Regions from separate parts of the Homo sapiens genome. Here region 2 is linked to region 1. The links are contacts of gene promoters, found by promoter capture Hi-C in blood cells and fetal thymus (Javierre and others, 2016). All regions are on one chromosome and are shown on one strand. Each heading gives the region's core, a stretch centred on a gene start or on the middle of the fragment in contact. The rest is flanking DNA. Distances are from core to core; before and after follow the strand shown. Region 1 holds the start of PEX12 (peroxisomal biogenesis factor 12). Region 2 has its middle 54 kb from the start of SLFN5.

Region 1 (7,199 bases), core at 4,700-7,199:
ATGAGGCTAGCCCCATCACACACACACACACAAATTAATATATGTTGACTAAACGCATAAATAAGTGATCAACAATATTAGTTGCCATAGACAGGAGAAGGGCTAAAAAGTGTCTACAGGATTTAGTAACATGGAGGTATTTGATGTTATTGCTGAGAAATCAGTAGAGATATGAAGGCAAAAGTCATACTGCAGATGTTTGAGGATGGATTAGAAATGAGGAAATAAAAACAGGAGTTGCAGATAACTCATAAGAAAGTATGACCAAAGAAAGCAGAAATGGTATCTGAGGAAAACAGTGGCAAGGATTTTTTCTTTCTTGAGGCAGGGTGTTGCACTGTTGCCCAGGCTGGAGTGCAGTGGTGCCATTACAATTCACTGCAGCCTTGACCTCCCAGGCTCAAGCAATCCTCCTACCTAGCCTCCCAAGTAGCTGCGACTACAGGCATGTGTCACCACGCCTAGCTAATTTTCTTTTTTTGTAGAGAGGGGGTCTTGCCATGTTGCCCAGGCTGGTCTGCAACTCCTGGGCTCAAGTGATCCTCCTGCCTTGGCCTCCCCAAATGCTGGGATTATAGGCATGAGCCACCAAACTCAGCCAATTTTTTCAAGTTTAGTTCTATACTCATACATTTTCTCTACACTAACCCTTTAGCATACCATGGTTTTAATTATCTTTCTTACATATATGGCTCCAAAATCTCTTATCTCTAGCCTAGACCTATTCCCCAAATTTCATCACCAAATCGATAACTATACTGCTGGGTTAAATCATAAGGAATGGAGGAGGTTAGAAAAACCTGGTTACAGAGTTGGGCACAGCAGTTTACACCTATGATCCCAGCACTTTGGGAGGCTGAGGTGGGAGGATCACTTGAGCCCAAGAGTTTGAGGCTGTAGTGAGCCATGATCATGCCACTGCACTCCAGCCTGGGTGACAGAGTGAGACCGTCTCTAAAAAGAAAGAGAGAGAGAGAGAGAGAGAGAGAGAGAGAGAGAGAGAGAAAAAACTCGTTCAAGGTACAACTGCTAGCAGACAGAGGTAGATTTCGTAAAGATGTCATTAGAAAAATCTTCAAGAGGCTGGCCGTGGTGGCTCACGCCTGTGATCACAGCACTTTGGGAGGCCAAGGCAGGTGGATCACCTGAGGTCAGGACTTTGAGCCCAGCCTGGCCAACATGGTAAAACCCTGACTCTACTAAAAATACAAAAATTAGCCAGGCATGGTGGCACATGCCTGTAGTCTCAGGTACTAGGGAGGCTGAGGCAGGAGAATTACTTGAACCTGAGAGGAGGAGGTTGCAGTGAGCCGAAATCACACCACTACACTGCAGCCTGGGCAATAAAGTAAGACTCCATCTCAAAAAAAAAAAAAAAAAAAAAAAAAAAAAAAAAAAAAAAAAGGAAAAGGAAAAAAAAAGAAAAAGAAAAATATTTAAGAGCTTTGATTCATACCTCTCTGCTGTTCAAAAACTTTCATCAACTTCTCATTGCCTAACATGTTTGAAAGCTATTCTTCCCCCAGTTTCCTCCATCTATGTGCTTTCTTTGGTTTTCTCATCTATAAAATGGAGGAAGATAGTAACATCTAATCATAATATTGAACAATGAAATAAATTAAATGTAAAGCACTTAGAACTATGGCTGGCATATAGCATGGACTATGGAACTATTTCCTGTAATTGTGATTATTTTAATAAATTGCACTGAGCTGCTCAAGCCAGAAACCTAGGGGTCATTCCTGATTTCCCTTTCCTTCAACTGCCACATCCAATCCATCTCCAGTTGTCAATTCTACCTTTAAAATCTCAAAGCCGTAGCTGGGCGCTGTGGCTCACACCTGTAATCCCAGCACTTTGGGAGGCCAAGGCAGGTGGATCACAAAGTCAGGAGTTCGTGACCAGCCTGGCCAAGATGATGAAACCCCGTCTCTACTAAAATTAGCCAGGCGTTGTGGTGGGCGCCTGTAATCTCAGCTACTCGGGAGGCTGAGGTACAGAACTGCTTGAACCCGGGAGGCAGAGGTTGCAGTGAGCCGAGATTGCGCCACTGCACTCCATCCTGGGCAACAGAGCAAGACTGTCTCAAAAAAAAAAAAAAAAAAAAAAAAAACAACAACTCCAAGCCATCCAACTCCCTCTATTCAATCTCATAAATCCACCATCACCTTTTGCCTAGACTATTAGAAGGCTATAAGTCTTCTCTCTACCATTCTCCACGTAGTGGCCAGGTTGTTTAACTTTTTTGGATGTATAACATACATTTAAAAATGTGCATATCTGGCCTGATGTGGTGGCTCACACCCGTAATCCCAGCACTTTGGGAGGCTGAGGCAGGGGGATCACTTGAGGCCAGGAGTTTGAGACCAGCCTGGCCAACATGGCAAAACCCTGTCTCTACTAAAAATACAAAAATTAGCCGGGTGTGGTGGCACATGCATGTAGTCCCAGCTACTCCGGGGGGTCTGAGGTGGGAGAATCACTTGAACCCGGGAGGTGGAGGTTGCAGTGAGCCGAGACTGTGCCACTGCACTCCAGCCTGGGCTACAGAGCCAGACTCTATCTCAAGAAAACAAAAACAAAAACAAAAATGTGCATATATCATAAATGTAAAGCTTGATATAAATACTGCATACCCACAAAACCATCAGAGACATCTTTAAAAAAATATAAACCTGGCCAGGCACGGTGGCTCACGCCTGTAATCCTAGCACTTTGGGAGGCCAAGGTGGGCAGATCACAAGGCCAGGAGTTCAAGACCAGCCTGGCCAACATGGTGAAACCCCATCTCTACTAAAAATACAAAAATTAGCCGGGCATGTTGGCGGGCGCCTGTAATCCCAGCTACTTGGGAGGCCGTGGCAGGAGAATCGCTTGAACACAGGAGGCGGCGGTTGCAGTGAGTCATCATGCCATTGCACTCCAGCCTGGGCAACAAGAGTAAAACTCTGTTTCAAAAAAAAAAAAATATATATATATATATTTTTTAATATATGTATATATACACAAATATATATACAAATATATAATATATACAAATATATAAATATATATTATATATTTATATATTTTATTTATTATATATTATATATATTTGTATATATTATATATTTGTATATATATTTTTATATATATTTGTATATATATTTTATATATATTTGTATATATATTATATATATTTGTATATATTATATATATATTTGTATATATATATATATATATATATATATATATATATATATATATTTGTTTATATATATACCTGATCACACATCTCTGGTGTGTGAATCCTTCATTGGCTTCCCATTGCACTTGGGCTAAAATCCAGGGTTGTTCCCATGGCCTGTGAGTCCCTGCATGGTTTGGCCTGTCTACCTCTCTAACATCATTTTGTGCTTTTCAGTTACTGCTCATTTCCTCATCATTTCACCTTTTGCCAGTTATAATAGCCCTCAAACACACCAAGCTCTTTCCCACCTTAGGGTCTTCACAATACTCTTCCTTCTGCCTAATATTCTTTTCCCCAACTCCTCATATGGCTGGCTCCTCATAATTTAGGCCTTTGTTATGTCCTCAGAAGGGCATTCCGATTATCACGTCTAAAAGATTTGGGCCTCCCAGACCTCTTATTCGAGTTGCAAATTTCTGTTTTCTTTTTTTTTTTGAGACAGAGTCTCACTCTGTCCCCCAGGCTGGAGTGCAGTGGTGTGACCTCGGCTCACTGCAACCTCCACCTCCCGGGTTCAAGTGATTCTCCTGCCTCAGCCTCCAGAGTAGCTGGGATAACAGACATCCACCACCATGCACCATCATTCCAAGCTAATTTTTGTATTTTTAGTAGAGATGGGTTTTCACCATGTCGGCTGGGCCGGTCTCAAACTCCTGACTTCGTGATCCACCCGTCTCAGCCTCCCAAAGTGCTGGGATTACAGGTATGAGCCACCATACCAGGCCCTACCTTTCCTTTTTCTTTTCTTTTTTCTGGAGATGGAGTCTCGCTCAGTTACCCAGGCTGGAGTGCAATGGTGCAATCTCGGCTCACCACAACCTCCGCTTCCAGGGTTCAAGCGATTCTCCTGCCTCAGCCTCCCGAGTAGCTGGGATTACAGGTATGTGCCACCACACCCAGCTAATTTTTTGTATTTCTAGTACAGACTGGGTTTCTCCATGTTGGTCAGGCTGGTCATGACCTCTTGACCTCAGGTGATCCACCCGCCTCGGCCTCCCAAAGTGCTGGGATTATAGGCGTTCTTATGCCATACGTTTAGTTAACTTTTGGAGTACTTCCATGGGACTATCAATCAAGACATCCTGCCTTCCCCTGGCTAAGAGTGAAAGACAGGGTGGAGAGGGAACTTGAACCAAGAGAGGTCAGTCAAAATTTGTATCACGAGCAGAGTCACAAACAGAAATTGGTGGAAGCTCGTTCACTGCAACAACGTTGCCTGGATAAGAACTTCTAATTCCTGTTAGGCAGTCCCAATAGTATTGTTAAGTTCCTGTTCTTTCAGGGCTGGCTTTACTTATTTTGTGAGCTACTCCATACACTTCTAATAAATTCCGTTTTAGTTTAAATTAGCCTGTTTGTTTCTGTTGCTTGTAACCAAAGATCCCTAAGTGACAAAAATGTTTAATTTCCTGCTTGATTTAGTTGATGCTACCTCTCAACTTTGTATTTTTGCTATTCACTTAAGAAAAGCTTGTACATAACAGTTACTATTAAACAAGCACCTAATATGTATCCAGGTGCTTCATATGGATAAACTATGTCTAGTCTTAAAACTCTGTAAGGTAAAAATCATATATCAATATAATGTCTTTTGGTAGAGTAAAAAACACTTTTTATAACTATAATTAAGGACAATTTGTAAGGTTTTCTCTCCTATTGGAATAACTAAATCCAAACCTTGTTTTTGAGGGTTCTCATTATGCAAACCAATTATTTTTATAACATAAGGGCCTCTAGGGCAGTAAACAATACCTTCTATTCCCAGCTATTTAGCCCAGAGGTGGCACTTCCCAGAGGAAGGGAGGAGAGGTGGAACTCTCATCCAAATTCAATAAGGCTGTGTCAGCCAACTTCAGCGAGACAAAGCTGTACATAACATAAAAGCACTTTACAAACCTTAAGGTAAATCACATTCATTTTGGTATAAAAACGGCATGAAAGGAAACTTTCTGTCAAGTGTCCCCAGTGCATGCTAGTTACAATTCATAAAGCTCCCTCTGCGTTAGTACTGTATTCATATCGCTGGTGGTGACATATACAACTGTGTTCAAGGATGGAGACCATTTTCATCCAGTATAGCAAGTGCATGCAGTTATGCTTGAATATAGCCAAAACCTGGAAGACGTTAAACTACCAGCTTGGATGAAAATTAACCGTCTCAAGTACTGAGGAACAAGCATGAACCTTTCTCAATCCAATCATCTTTCCTTATAATTGGCGGCAATAAATCTAAGGCTCCTATCTCCTGCTATGTCGCTTTAAATCATTTCTGGAAGGCTAAGACATATAAATTAACCACCATCCCTGCCGCACGCGTACAGCAAAGTCCTTTCCACCTCCAGATTCCCTTCCTCCCACCGCCCCTAGCTTCATCGCCTGCAGGAACACAGGGCTCAGCAACGGGCCCGAGCTCTGGCTCCCGGCGCCAGACGTCTGCGCGGTGCCCCAAACAGCTTGTCAAAAAGACCTCGCAGAGAGAGGTTCAGAGCTGTAGCTTTCCAGCGAGGCTACCATGCAGACCCAGCTACGAAAAGTAAACCAAACTAGCCAAAACCAGCCCACAAGGGCCCTCTTCTGTTTCAGCGGGGCGGGAGCGGAAGCTCAGGTGGGTCATAGAGTTCTCTAGTTCTGGTTTCCGGACCGCATTCGGAACTAGAGCGCCTCTCTTCCGCCAGGCATCCCAGAGGTCCTGGTGGTTTCATTTCCGGGTGCGGCTTCTGTCATAAAGCGGAGACCTCCCTTCAAACGTGGCGTCGTGGGTTGTTTGCGCCTCGCCTGGGGTCAGCGAGCAAGGACGGGCGCGGGCGGGGATACTCAAAGCCAACAGCTGGAGTCAGCCCTTGTGTCCCGGGCTCACAGTGGCACGACTGAATCCTCAGAGTCGGCTGGCTTTTGAGCTCTCACGATTGGGGAGGAGGGGGCGTTTCTGGTTCGCAGCTCCAGAGGATTGCGTTCCTTCCCCCATACCTGTCCCCCACAGTCACGCTCTGCCCTGACGTGCAGCATTTGACAAGTTACCCCCTCGCCACATACTACTTCCACCCACGTCCGAGTTAACTTTGTTCTTAACCTTCTTGAGACTACCCTCGGCCTCCAGGTCTTTTTTTCCCAGTTCATTTTTGCCCATAAGATTGAGTTTCGAGTTTCAGATATCATGCAGAAAGTTTACCTTTAAGACTGAGCACCCATCTGATACTCTTCCTCCCGAAAAAGTTCATGCTCACGAGAGAGTTTGTGGGAAAAGTGAAAGCCAGTACACGCAGGAAACTATGGCTGAGCACGGGGCTCACTTCACAGCTGCTTCTGTGGCCGATGACCAGCCATCCATCTTTGAGGTGGTAGCACAGGACAGTTTAATGACAGCAGTGAGACCCGCTCTTCAGCATGTGGTCAAGGTAAGGTATTAATTCTTGGAAAGGTTTTAGGGACAACTGGGTAAAAAACAAACGAATAATTTGTGCTTATTTGGTAGCCTAGCGTTTGAAATAGCCAATTTGCAAATAACTTGTATCCCATGACTTAAGAGTTACTGAGTCTCTGTTATGTGTAGAGACCTGTACTGAATACCCAGCATTTCAGGGTCCAACAGTGACTTATTTAAAACAAATTGTGTAGACTTTAGAGGAAAAGGGGGAATGTAAATAGGTGTAGAACTTGTGTAATGGAATGAATTTCACTTATTGCTTTATTTTGCTTTAGGTTCTTGCAGAATCAAATCCCACCCACTATGGCTTCTTGTGGAGGTGGTTTGATGAAATCTTTACTCTGCTAGATCTTCTGCTCCAGCAACATTATCTGTCTAGAACCAGTGCCTCATTTTCTGAAAACTTTTACGGCTTAAAGAGAATTGTAATGGGGGACACTCACAAGTCTCAGAGATTGGCTAGTGCTGGTCTCCCAAAGCAGCAGCTTTGGAAATCTATTATGTTCCTGGTTCTTCTTCCCTATCTGAAAGTGAAGCTGGAGAAGC
Region 2 (7,199 bases), core at 2,741-5,240, 280 kb after region 1:
TTTTTTGAGACAGAGTCTTGCTCTGTCACCCAGGCTGGAGTGCAGTGGCGCGATCTCAGCTCACTGCAATCTCTGCCTCCTGGGTTCATGCCATTCTCCTGCCTCAGCCTCCCGAGTAGCTGGGACTATGGGCACCTGCCACCACACCTGGCTAATTTTTTGTATTTTTAGTAGAGACGGGGTTTCACCATGTTAGCCAGGATGGTCTCAATCTCCTGACCTCGTGATCCACCTGCCTCGGCCTCCCAAAGTGCTGGGATTACAAGCGTGAGCCACTGTGCCTGGCCATAAATTCTTTTTTCTTTAATATCAAGATTAGAAGTTAGGGTATTTCACTAAATAGTTCAAGATGTAGCTATCTTTATTAAACCAATATTAATGTTTCATTGATTAAAAAATTACAGAAGCAAAGATTATTCTGTTTGGGCTGAGTTATAGTTTTGTGGCCTCTATGCAAAATTTTCACATCTTATAGTATTTGGCAGAGATAACTATGAAATTGCTTGATTAATAAATGCAAACAAAAATGTATGCTGGAAACTTTTAAGACATTTCTAATCTTACTGTACTAGTAAGTTTTAAAGATTAAAGTCACATGAACTGAAAGGTCCCACAGCTTTTACTTTTCTGTTAAAAATATTTGATTTAAGTGCTTATTTTTCTTAGGTCAATTAATTAGAGCTTTTTAAATAGGCATTGCACACATAACACATACATAGCCACACAGACAACCAGAAGAAGATCCAGTAATTAGAATTTTTTTTTTTTTTGCCCCTTTCCCAATTGGATCACTGGCCTTTGGGTGAGACCCTTTAAGAACAGGGCTATGAAAACAGTTTCCAGGGCCTAATAAACAAGCATAGCTGGAAGACAAAGACAGATTTTGAGAGGTACTTATTCATCTTTAATTCCAGGGGTTCCATAAGGAAAACAGATTTTTTCCCAAAACGGGATTTGTGGCAGCTTTTCTGTTTTCCCAAGGAGTCCCAGGCCACCAGAAGTCATTTTGGGATTTTTCATATATGCACCAAGAGTGGTAAGACAGAGTGGAGAAAAGTAATTCAGTTGACTGGGGAAAAAAACCTTTTCCAGGAAAACAAGATTTATGAAGAGAAAAACATAAAGGCCTTTTGAATATACTCATAGCTTGAATATTCATTTTAATTAAATTGAGAGCTGTTTTTCATCAGGGGTGAGGGTGGAGGTTAGAATTATATAAATATGCCATGTTAAATTAAAGGATTGGGTTATGTGCAGGAATTCCCTGCACTAGTCAGGGGGATTTTCAGAGAAAGATCCCAGGCACTGTTTGATCTGCGACAAATCAGATGTGGAGAAAGGGCATGAATGGGAGCAATGCCTTCAACCGCAGCCACTTCCTGGAGACGGAGAATGGCAGGGTGGTTTGACTGGTTGGAGCAGTTTTTGAATGGGTAACAGATGGAGAAGGAGAAGGAGCAGGGTTTGGAGCTGAAAGCTTGCGGGCAGGAGGCGTCACTGAAGTGGAGGATTCAGATAGGTTGAGGAGCAGATGCAGGGGGATAAGAATATGGAGGGGGTTCATCTGCAGGGTCAAAGGGGTTTTGGAGGAAGGAGTTTCAGAGAAAGGAGAGACCTGGGGAAGGTTATCATTAAGAAGAAAGACTTCATGAGGGGTGCAAGTTTGACACAGGGAGGGTTGGGATCTAAAGTAAAAGAAAGCCTGAATATAGGGAACCTCCTGCCATTTGCTGTTCCTAGTTATAAAGTTGTCAAGGTCCCTGAGAATTTGAAAGTCAAAGGTGCCATTTTCAGGCTACCAGCTGTCATTATCTAATTTGTATTGGGGCCAGGCCATGTTGCAATAAAAAAGCATACTCTTTGGCTTTATGCTTCCTTTAAGCCAAGCTTAGCAACATTGTGAAGGAGACAGCCCAATGGAGAGGACTTAGGAAAGTGGGATTGTTTGGCACCCATGTGGACTGGTAAGAGGAAGCTGAAGGTGTCTGTTTTTGTTCTAGGCATCCACAGATAAAAGACAGAAACCTGGAATCCTCTTTATAAAGAGGATGATCAAGCTGCGAAGAAACTGGGCATCTCCAAGATTTCTTCTAGCTTAGTCCCACTGGTCCTCTGAGGACCGGGACAGCTGACCTGACTCTCCCAGGTGCTGTGAGAAAGTCAGGAGAGGGCAGATCTTACTAGTCAGCTGGATTAGTGTCCGATGTTGGATGTTCTGATTGGAATTGGCAAAGGGCCCCTTGGACTAGAGCTTCACAAGGAAGAGAGGGAGAGAGAGACAGAGAGAGAGAGAGAGAGAGAGAGAGAGAGAGAAGAGGATGAGGGAGGAGGGAAGAGAGCAAAATACCCATTGTGGGCAGCCAGAGGTGGATTCCTAAGACCTGAGGGCTTTGAGGGTTCACTGGAGATTTGCCCCAGCCTGAGCCTCACAGTCCCCTTCAGGTTAGTTGTCCTCCTCAGACAAATTGCTAGAAAAGTGAAGTGAGAGACAAGACAAGATGGGTGGCCAGAGACTCTCAGGATCCAGCAGGATGAGCAGCTGCTGTCCACTGCTTTTTGGGTTGCAGGAGAACCTCTACCCCCAGCACCCATCCTGAGTTTTGGCAGCAAATGTAAGAGTTAAAGAAAGAGGAAAGAAACACGAAAAGTGACTCACCAGTCAAAGACAGGTTTATTTTGGAGAATAAACCTGAGAGGGGCTTCTGGCTGATTTTGGTCAGGAGCACACTCTCTTACAGATTAAGCGTATTTGTTGATTTTAGGGTGAGAGAGCTTATCATAGGCTTGGAATGTTTCTTTGTGGGGAAGAAGTTTATTGTGGGTTTGGAATGTCTCTGGTAGGAGGGGAGGTTGTCTTGGGGCTGACATCTCTCTGGGGAGGGGTTTATCTTATGGTTGAAATGTTTCTGGTCAGAGATGTCATTTATGGTTTATGGTCATGCTGGCCTTAGCCTTTAGGCTGATGCCCTGTGGATTTAGGTGGTTTTTGATTAAGGGGAACTTTAGAATGGTGGTGTTTGTCCAAGATGGTGATGCTCCTGTTCTGTCAAAGTCCCTAGGCTGCACACAGCACAGGGATCCTCTGTCCAGCCCAGGAAACTACTTTTTCCTCCTGGGCCTCCAGACCTGTGATGGGAGGGGCTGCTGTGAAGGTCTCTGACATGGCCTAAAGACATTTTCCCCATGGTCTTGGGGATTAACAGTAGGCTCCTCACTGCTTATGCAAATTTCTGCAGCTGGCTTGAATTTCTCCCCAGAAAATGGGGTTTTCTTTTCTATTGCATAGTCAGGTTGCAAACTTTCCAAACTTTTATGCTCTGCTTCTGTTATGAAATTGAATGCCTTTAACAAGTCACCTCTTGAATGCTTTGCTGCTTAGAAATTTCTTCCACCAGATACCCTAAATCATCTTTCTCAAGTTCAAAGTTTTACAAATTTCTAGGGCAGGGGCAAAATGCCACCAGCCTCTTTGCTAAAACATAACAAGATCCACCTTTACTCCAGTTCCCAACAAGCTCCTCATCTCCATCTGAGACCACCTCAGCCTAGACCTTATTGTCCATATCACTATCAGCATTTTGGTCAAAGCCATTCAACAAGTCTCTAGGAAGTTCCAAACTTTCCCACATTTTCCTGTCTTCCTCTGGGGCTTCCAAACTGTTCCAACTTCTGCCTGTTACCCAGCTCCAAAATCACTTTCACATTTTCTGGTATCTTTTCAGCAATACCCCTCTACTGGTAACAATTTACTATATTAGTCTGTTTTCATGCTGCTGATAAAGACATACCCAAGACTGGGAAGAAAAGGAGGTTTATTGGGACAGTTCCACATGGCTGGGGAAATCTCAGAATCATGGCGGGAAGTGAAGGCACTTCTTACATGGTGGTGGCAAGAGAAAATGAGCTAGAAGCAAATGAGGAAACCCCTGATAATCCCATCAGATCTCATGAGACTTATTCACTATCATGAGAATAGCATGGGAAAAGACGGCCTCCATCATTAAACTACCTCTCCCTGGGTCCCTCCCATAACATGTGGGAATTCCGGGAGATACAATTCAAGCTCAGATTTGGATGGGGACACAGCCAAACCATATCAATGACTGTACTAATTTACATTTCCTCCAACAGTGTACAAGAGTTTTCTTTTTTCCTCATCCTCTCCAACACTTGTTTTCATTCATCTTTTTTGTAATAGTCAATCTAACAGCATGAGGTGATATATTATTGTGGTTTTATTTACATTTCCCTGATCAGTAATATTGAGCATTTTTCCAAATATCTATTGGCCATTTGTGTGTATTTTGAAAAATGTGTATTCACATTGTTTGCCCAGTTTTTAATCAAGTTATTTGTTTCTTTCGATTGAGTCATTTGAATACCTTGTATATTTTGGATATTAGCCCATTTTATGCTGTATAATTTGCAAATATGTTCTCCCAATCCGTGGACTGTATCTTCACTCTGTTAATTATTTCCTTTGCTGTGCAGTAGTTTTTTTTGTTTGATGCAATACCATTTGTCTATTATTGTTTTCATTGCCTGTACTTTTGGGACCTAGCAAAGAAATCACTGCCCAGAACAAGCTCACGTTTTTTATGGTAAGAAGGAAAAGTCTATATTCTGAAAAGATGGCAGATGTTTTATTTAACCAGAAATTAACTGCCTTCAAGGACCCTTTTTTAGATTCTTTCTGAGGATCCTTGAAGGGAGTCCATTTCCTGGAAATTAACGCAGGAAATGGGAGTTTCAAGGATGGAGATTCTTTAGGCATGAGTATAGTCTAGAGGAAGATGTGACAAATCACATAATTGGGCTTCAAGCAGTGATGGCCCAGGAAGGCCTAACTGGACTCCTAAGGACTCAGCAGAACTGAAGGCATTTGAGAGCACTCACTCCTTCTGTCAGACTCTCTCCAAAGTTAAATCAAGGAGAAATATTGTTTTTTCCATTATGCTGATGCAGCCTGACCACTGTGAGGACTGTGGGACTTTACAAGGATGGTGTTAAAAGTAGAGGTAAACAGCAAGATTTCACAATCATGCAAAGGAAAGAAAAGGGCGCTATAAAAATATATTAACTAACCAGCCAAGGAAAGGGAAAGGGGAGAAAAACAAGAAAATTCAGTGTTGCAAAAGTGATAATTTGCAACTGACAATGTTTGCTCTGATTCTGTTTTTCTACCCTGCCCCTGCCTCTGCCTCTCTTGGCCTCTCCAAGACCTGACACAATGCCCGCCCCGCCCGTCCCATCCTTCATATCCACACTCAATCACAGTGTGAATGTCAAGACTGAGAAGAACCTGCCCTAGGGTTTCACATGGCAGCTTTTTGCTCACTGAGGCCTCCCTGACTTCCCAGTCTAATGTACCAACTCCTCTTACCAGACAGACAAACCAGACAGACACACATTCACAGATACCGAGAGCCTTTCTGTTGTACTGCCTTGCTTTACAACCCTATTATCCCTTTTCATGCTCTGCCATTCCGTGTACTCATGTTTGTTCACATATTCCAGAACTTTCCTGTCATGTCTGCCTCTGGACTCCCAGCACTTAGATCTACTAGTTTCATACACAGGCTGGGGTAGGAGCCTGTGTATGAAACTTCTTAGATGGAAAGCCTTCCAATCAGTTATCACCCTTTAGAATATACAGTTGTGTCTCACCCTGGAGGCTGGAAAGAGTTGAAGGTTCTGTGCAACAGTTGTTTCAGCTGCTCTTGGAGGGGTCAGAAATGTGACCTGCATCTTTGCCAACATATGTTATTTTTTGACTTTTTAGTAATAACCATTCGGACTCATGTAAGATGATATCTCATTGTGGTTTTCATTTGCATTTATCTGACAATTAGTGATGCTGAAAATTTTTTTATATGCTTGTTGGTCATTTGTATGTCTTCTTTAAAAAAATGTCTATTCAAATCCTTTGCCCACTTTTGTTGTTGTTGCTGTTATTGTTGTTGAAGTTTGAGTTTTTCACAAATTCTGGATGCCAGTCCCCTGTTGAATGGTTGAATGGATAGTTTGCAAATATTTTCTCCCATTCTGCAGGTCTGTTCACTCTATTGATTTTTTTTTCTGTGCAGAAGCTTTTTAGTTTAAGTCCCATTTGTCTATTTTTGTTTTTGTTGCTTGTGATTTTGAGGCCTTAGTCATAAATTCGTTGCCTAGATCAATGTCCACAAGAGTTTTACCTAGGTTTTCTTCTAGAATTTTTATAGTTTCACGTCTTATAATTGAGTCTTTAATCCATCTTGTATATCGTGAGAGATAGGAGTCCAGTTGCATTCTTCTGGATGTGGCAATCCAATTTCCCCACCATCATTTATTGAAAAGGGGATCCTTTCCCCAGTGTATGTTTTTGTCAACTTTGCCAAAGATCAGTTGGCTGTATGTGTGTGGCTTTATTTCTGAGTTCTCTGTTCCATTAATCTATATGTCTATTTTTGTACCAGTACCATGGTGTTTTGCTTACCATAGCCTTGTAGTATAGTTTGAGATCAGGTAATGTGTTGCTTCCGAGTTTGTTCTTTTTGCTTAGGATTGCTTTAGCCATTTGGGCTCTTTTTTGGTTCCAAGTGAATTTTAAGATTGTTTTTTTCCAACTCTGCGAAAAACAACATTGGTATTTTGATAGATATTGCATTGAATCTGTAGATTGCTTTGTGCAGTATGGTCATGTTAATGACATTAATTCTTCTGATCCATGAGAATAAGATGCTTTTCCATTTGTTTGTGTCATCTACAACTGCTTTCATCAGTGTTTTGTAGTTTTCCTTGTAAAGATCTTTTATCTCCTTGGTTAAATATATTCCTGGGCATTTTATTTTATTTTACTTCATTTTTTGTAGCTATGTTAAATGGGATTGCCTTCTTGATTTGGTTCTCTGCTTGATCATTATTAATGCAGAGAAATGCTAATGACTTTTGTACACTGATTTCGTATTGTGAAACTTTACTGAATTCATTTATCAGATCTAGAGCTTTTTGGAGAAGTCTTTAGCAATTTCTAGATATAAGGTTATATTGCCAGTGAACAGAGATAATTTGACTTCCTCTTTTCCAAGTTGGATACCTTTTATTTCTTTCTCTTGCCTGATTGCCCTATGAGTTCAGCACTATGTTGAATAGGAGTGGTGAGAATGAACATCCTTGTCTTGCTCCAGTTCTTAGAGGGAATGCTTGCAACTTTTTCCTAT

What was found. The method cuts DNA at HindIII sites, captures the fragments that hold promoters and counts their contacts. A CHiCAGO score of 5 or more calls a contact.
Region 2: a contact is called between a fragment that was not itself captured here and the fragment with the promoter of PEX12 in region 1, in 4 of 17 cell types (non-activated CD4 T cells, naive CD4 T cells, naive CD8 T cells and 1 more). The highest score is 8.1, in non-activated CD4 T cells.

What each region holds. Positions count from the first base shown.
Region 1 is chr17:35,577,321-35,584,519 of GRCh38, reverse strand. PEX12 (peroxisomal biogenesis factor 12) reads left to right here and starts at 5,949. Exons shown (of 3, transcript NM_000286.3): 1 at 5,949-6,624; 2 at 6,929-7,199. The coding sequence starts at 6,499. RefSeq lists an enhancer at 5,870-6,685. The HindIII fragment of the contact is 3,440 bases long and covers 4,702-7,199 here.
Region 2 is chr17:35,293,487-35,300,685 of GRCh38, reverse strand. No RefSeq gene overlaps it. Among named protein-coding and RNA genes, the nearest start is that of SLFN5, 54 kb to the right of the region's middle. The HindIII fragment of the contact is 4,202 bases long and covers 1,890-6,091 here.